Linked DNA regions of Homo sapiens: region 1 is linked to region 2. Evidence: promoter capture Hi-C in human tissues and cell types (Jung and others, 2019). All regions are on one chromosome and are shown on one strand. The core of a region is centred on a gene start or on the middle of the fragment in contact, and the rest is flanking DNA. Distances in the headings are between cores, read along the strand shown. Region 1 holds the start of RC3H2 (ring finger and CCCH-type domains 2). Region 2 holds the start of PTGS1 (prostaglandin-endoperoxide synthase 1).

The links. Contacts are between HindIII fragments. The study calls those that stand out against the background at their distance.
Region 1: a contact is called between the fragment with the promoter of RC3H2 here and the fragment with the promoter of PTGS1 in region 2, in 1 of the 25 tissues and cell types used here (heart left ventricle).

What each region holds. Positions count from the first base shown.
Region 1 is chr9:122,903,981-122,906,680 of GRCh38, forward strand. It overlaps RC3H2 (ring finger and CCCH-type domains 2), which reads right to left and starts at 1,379. Exons shown (of 21, transcript NM_001100588.3): 1 at 1,130-1,379. RefSeq lists a silencer at 834-1,483. The HindIII fragment of the contact is 5,285 bases long and covers 1-2,700 here.
Region 2 is chr9:122,369,647-122,372,346 of GRCh38, forward strand. It overlaps PTGS1 (prostaglandin-endoperoxide synthase 1), which reads left to right and starts at 1,378. Exons shown (of 11, transcript NM_000962.4): 1 at 1,378-1,445; 2 at 1,540-1,626. The coding sequence starts at 1,439. The HindIII fragment of the contact is 15,948 bases long and covers 1-2,700 here.

The sequences.
Region 1 (2,700 bases), core at 129-2,628, 530 kb after region 2:
TGCACTGGCTAACATTTGTTTCTTTGCTTTTGAGTGACTTTATACCACTGTGGTATAGCAACGTTAGCTTTCTCAGGTTAACCAAAAGTTCCTACTGGAACTTAAAAGTTTGGCCAATACAAAATTGGAAAAAAGATTACTTAAAGCACTTTATTTGGGATACAAACTCACCCACCCACAATGGGTAGGGGGAGAGTAGAAATGAAAAAAAGGAAGGCCGTGGGTAAGGGGAGAGGAGGAATTAAAAAGGGAACCCAAGGGTTATGAAAATATAAATAAATCACTGGATTAGATTTACTTTATGCCAGTGATTACTTGAGTCAATTTTGGTGTGAAGGATTTATCTGCCGGTATCTTAAACGGCTGCCTTGGGATTTGAAGGATGGAAATGACAGCTACCCTCATCTTCTCCCATCCTGAAAGCTAAGGATAGAAAAAAGTACAGCTGCTTCTCTGGGAAACAAAGATGCTTTCTACCATTCTTCTAAGATGGTGGAAGAGTCTCCTCAAGAGGCTACACCAAAAAGGAAAAATGAGAGAGGGAAAGAAGAAAGCCATAGCAGAATTTCCTGGCTGTGTTTCATGCCATTGCTCCTAGCCACAACCCCTGTGCAACCACTCAGGTCCGGCCGTCCCCATCCTGGGAGGTTAAGCCCTCCCAGGGCATTGTTTGGCCGGGGTTCCTATTTACCACTCAGATCGCCTCCACCACCCTCTACGCTAGGGTCTCGGGAAGCCCCAGGGCAGAAAGCTGAAAAGCTAGGAGAAGACTTGGTTTCGAGGACCTCTTCCAAACCCCCTTACTAACTGGTGTAGAAAAGGGAGAGTGAAGCCGGGCCTTTGCTTGGGTGGGTTCGTTAGGGGTCAGAGGCGTCCGCTCGGCCAGTGTCGAAGGAAGGTGGCCATTTGAGCCGGTCGCTCCGCATCGAAAAAGCCCTACCAGAGAGAGGGGCCTCCGCAGGGCCCGGGTTCCATCCGAGTGTCAGGTGCGGCCCTCAGTTCCCAACCCTCGAGGCACCAGGGGCGACAGCGCACAGGCCCCAGGGCTGAGACTGGTCTCCCGCCCGACCGCCGGGGACCAGGCACCCGGGCTGGGGCCCGAGCCGCATCGTGCCCGCCCCCGCCCTACCTGAGGGGGCCCGGGCGGGGTCGCTAAGGGCCGCTCCCGGGAGCCCCGCGACGGCGCGGCTTGGCGACGGAGGCGCCTCGTCTCGCCGGGGCAGAGCTCGGCGGAGGTTTCACGACCTCAAACTCCATCGGGAGCTACAGGGACAGCCCCGTTGGCGGCGGCGAAGGCCGCGACGGGGCCTCCTCCTCCTCCCTCCACCTCCGCCTCCTCCTCCTCCTCCTCCTCACCACGGAGGCGGACCTGGAGGGATCCCGATCTAGCTCTCGCGAGAAGTTACTCCCCACTTAACGCGAGATTACGCAAGCCCGGGAGTCGGGAGTTGGAAGGAAAGCGTAGTAGCCCCAGCCACCCAAACTGCGAATCAACTTCCCTCTGCCTCAGCGGATCCACCCCGATCACGTGACAAGGGAGCCCCGGAGCACTGTGGGAGGTACTGTGAGAAGGACTAGGCAAGCCGAAGGGATTGATGGGAAATTCCCTGCACATTCATCTGCGCCTTGAGCCGGCTTCCTAGACGCTGGTTTGAGCGAGTGTCTTAACTCCCTTCGTGAAAAGCGTGGAATCCATTGAGCAGAATCTGATACATCTGTGTCACATTCTTCTTCACACTCCTGTGATGACATGCCGACAGGATCCCTCAATCCCTTTACAAAGATGTCAAGTAATCTCCCCATTACAAAAACAAGAAGAAAACATGTATTTGGCAGGCACTTCCACATCTCACTTCTTTATTAAAGAGAAAACTCTGTTTCTAGACAAAGAGTCCAAAGTGGGGGGGGGAGGGGGGGAAGAAAGCTCTGAGCTCCTCAAAAGCTGGCAAAAATAAAAAATTTAAGCACAAATTCTGGCATCATATCTCAAATATTTGTTGAAGCTTTTTACACAGCGAACTAAGGTAAGAATTATTCTTACAGTTTATAATTTATAGATGAAACAGACTTGGAATAGGGATATCAGAATTAACATTTATAAACTACTTAGTATGTGTCAGGCAGGTCCTGTGTTAGGTGATATTTAATTTTAAATATTTTAGTTTTATTTACATTTCATTTAATTAGCAAAGTGATCCTAGAAGACAGATACAATGTACCCCTTGTTACTGATGAGAAACTAAAGAATGTAGGCTAGAAAATGACCATGACGCCGGGCGCGGTGGCTGATGCCTGTAATACCAGCACTTTGGGAGGCCGAAGCGGGTGGACCGCCAGGTCAGAAGTTAGAGACCAGTCTGGCCAACATAGTGAAACCCTGGCTCTACTAAAAATACAAAAATTAGCCGGGTGTGGTGGCGGGCACCTGTAATCCCAGCTACTCGGGGGGCTGAGGCAGGAGAATCACTTGAACCCGGGAGACGGAGGTTGCAGTGAGCCGAGACCGCGCCATTGCACTACAGCCAGGCGGGGGGGCAGTGCCAGACTCCGTCTCAACAAAAAAAAGAAGAAAAAAAATGACCATGACTTGTAATTAAACTCAAGGCACTTTCCAATGTGAAATCAGATGCCCAACAACAAAAATATCGAAGTAAACCTACGATAAATTAGAATATGGAAAGGTTGCTTCTACAGTTTTAA
Region 2 (2,700 bases), core at 128-2,627:
AATCCCATCTCCTTGCCCTGTAAATGCTAGGGGGCCCTTGATTTGGGGAGGAAGGGAAGGCTGAAGCCGGTCCCGGCACCCTGAGAGCCCCAGGGCCCTCCAATGCCCCACTCCTTCTCCAGGTCTGCCCTGGCTTGCTCTGTCTCCCTAGGGCAGCTGGCTTTTGTCCCAGGGGAGCATGGGAACAGCTTGGGTGAGAATGGGGGAGGGGCTTCCCAGCAGGTTTCACCTCTCCCACCTGGCATAATTTCTACCCTGCACCCAGTGATGCCCAGGAGCCAGCACAAGAACCTCTGAGCTCTCCTGCCGGCTTTCCCCACTGTGGGGCCCACAGGATGGCTGGGTGTGCTGGGGAAACTGAGGGAGATGACTTGTGGGTGCCAGCACCATGGGACTTTGGGTGATCTTGGACCTATTCCTTCCTCCTTCTAGGTGCTTCCTGAGCTGGCGAAAAGGAGAGCTGGATGCTGGGATTCTATAAATTCGGCGGTGGATGTGAGTCTAGCTACAGCATGGACCCTGGCCAGCCCTGGAATCTGAGTTCAGAGATCTTTGAAAAAATGCCTTCCGATAACTGAGCACCTACTACATGCTGGACACTGCACCAGGAGATTTGTGTGCATTCCCTCATTGAATCTTACAACCACCCTCTGGGATGGTTTTTGCTATTAAGCCGATTTTATAGATGAGAATACTGAGGGCTAGAAAAGATAAGTACCTTGTCCAAGGTGACACGGCCAGTAAGCTGTGGAGTCTGGATTTGAACTAGGCTCTCTTGGAGTTTGGAGCCCGGTCTTTTCATTTCTGGCAGAGACCTGTGGCTTCAGGGGGCGGAGCCCAGCCCATGGGGGAAGTAAGTCCTTCCTGTTAGATCTGTCTGAGGAGTAGTGAGTTTCTCATCTAGGAAACCATCAGCAGGCCAGGCTGGACTGCCCCATTTCTAGCCCCCTTTCTTCTCTGCAGACTGCCCTGTTTCTAGCCCCTTTTCTTCTCTACCCTTTTCTGTAGAGTGCGTTAGACCCATTTTACAGAAGGGGACTCTGAGACCCTTTCTTCTCTGCGGGGCAGGGTATGTGGTTCAGACGAGCCGCTTCCATCCCCAGTTCTGTCCCTAAGCCCTGGGTGACCTCAGCATTGAGCATCGTCTCTGAGCCTCAGTTTCCTGTCTATATCTAGTGCCACCAGGCATCAGAAACGTAAGTGCTTCAAGGATCTTGGGTGAAAAGCCGCTTTAGCGGCGAGCATACACTAATTAATAAAATGCCTTGGCCGGGGCTGGGCAGAGGAAGTAAGCGGGCAGCCGAGGTGACAGCTGGAGGGAGGAGCGGGGGTGGAGCCGGGGGAAGGGTGGGGAGGGGATGGGCTGGAGCTCCGGGCAGTGTGCGAGGCGCACGCACAGGAGCCTGCACTCTGCGTCCCGCACCCCAGCAGCCGCGCCATGAGCCGTGAGTGCGACCCCGGTGCCCGGTGGGGAATTTTCTTGGCCTCCTGGTGGAGCCTTGAATGCCAGGCTCAGCCCCTCATCTCTCTCCTCTGCAGGGAGTCTCTTGCTCTGGTTCTTGCTGTTCCTGCTCCTGCTCCCGCCGCTCCCCGTCCTGCTCGCGGACCCAGGGGCGCCCACGCCAGGTAGGCGGCCCCATCCCTCCCCAAGGGAATCCCCGGTCTTGCGCCCCTGGCCTGGTTTCAACCCCCTCCTTTCCCCTCCAGCGGGCCCAGCTTCCCCTTTCTGCTCGCGGTGCTGAGAAAGACTGAGGCTGAGTCTTTTGGTGGGATGGGGGCTCCCTGAAGCCCCCCCGGCGGTGTGGCCTTGGCTAATGGGCTATCTAGTTCTTTCAGGGGAAACAGCAGACTGGGATCTGGTGCCAACTTGGGGAGAAGGGACAGTCCCTATCCATCCCCCTCACCTGTTCTGGGCCCCAGATGTCTAAGCAGCCTCTGCACCCAACAACCCCGCTGTTTCCTATAGGGGCCTCTTTGGGAGGAAGCCGCAGGCACCAAGGGAAATGAGTTCCCTTTCTCCAGCCTCTAACCGTCTGGGAACCCATCCTGATTCCCATTGCCAGTGGAGAAGGTCTCCCCTGGTGAAGACTTCGGGAGAACATGGGAGATGGAAATACATTTAGGAGCCGGGATGCTTCATCTGGGGTTTAAGAGATCCCCATTGAGCAAATGAGGAAACCGAGGCTCAGTAGGTGCCATGATTCCCCAAGCTCACAAAATACATGGTGGGCCCAGGATCTGAACTCAGGTCTGTCTGCGTCCACACACTTCGCAAGGTCTTTCCACAGAAAGCTGCTTCTACCCACAATGGACCCGGAGCCACTCTGGGTTTCATGGGGGAGGTTGATGGGGAAATTCCGCCCTTCCCTCCCCCATGCATGTGCCAGGTTCCAGGTGAAGGAATTCAGCTCCTCGCTCAGCCAACCTTCCTCCCCCAGCTCGCTGCTTGTGTGTGTGCGTGTGTGTGAGCATGTGTCCCAGTTGGATATAGTTTCCTCCACCACCTAGCTGTGTAAAATCTCTAAAATGAGGCCCAGAGAGGGCAGGAGGGAGCAGAGGGAGTCCGCACTTTCTGCTGTGATGCTCTAAGGATCTGGTGCGTGGGGGAAAGAGGAAAGATATGTACATGGATTTTGGATCAGACCAAGTTTCCTGAAACGGGCTTTGGGTGGGTGGCATTTAGGGGACCCAAAGAGAGGA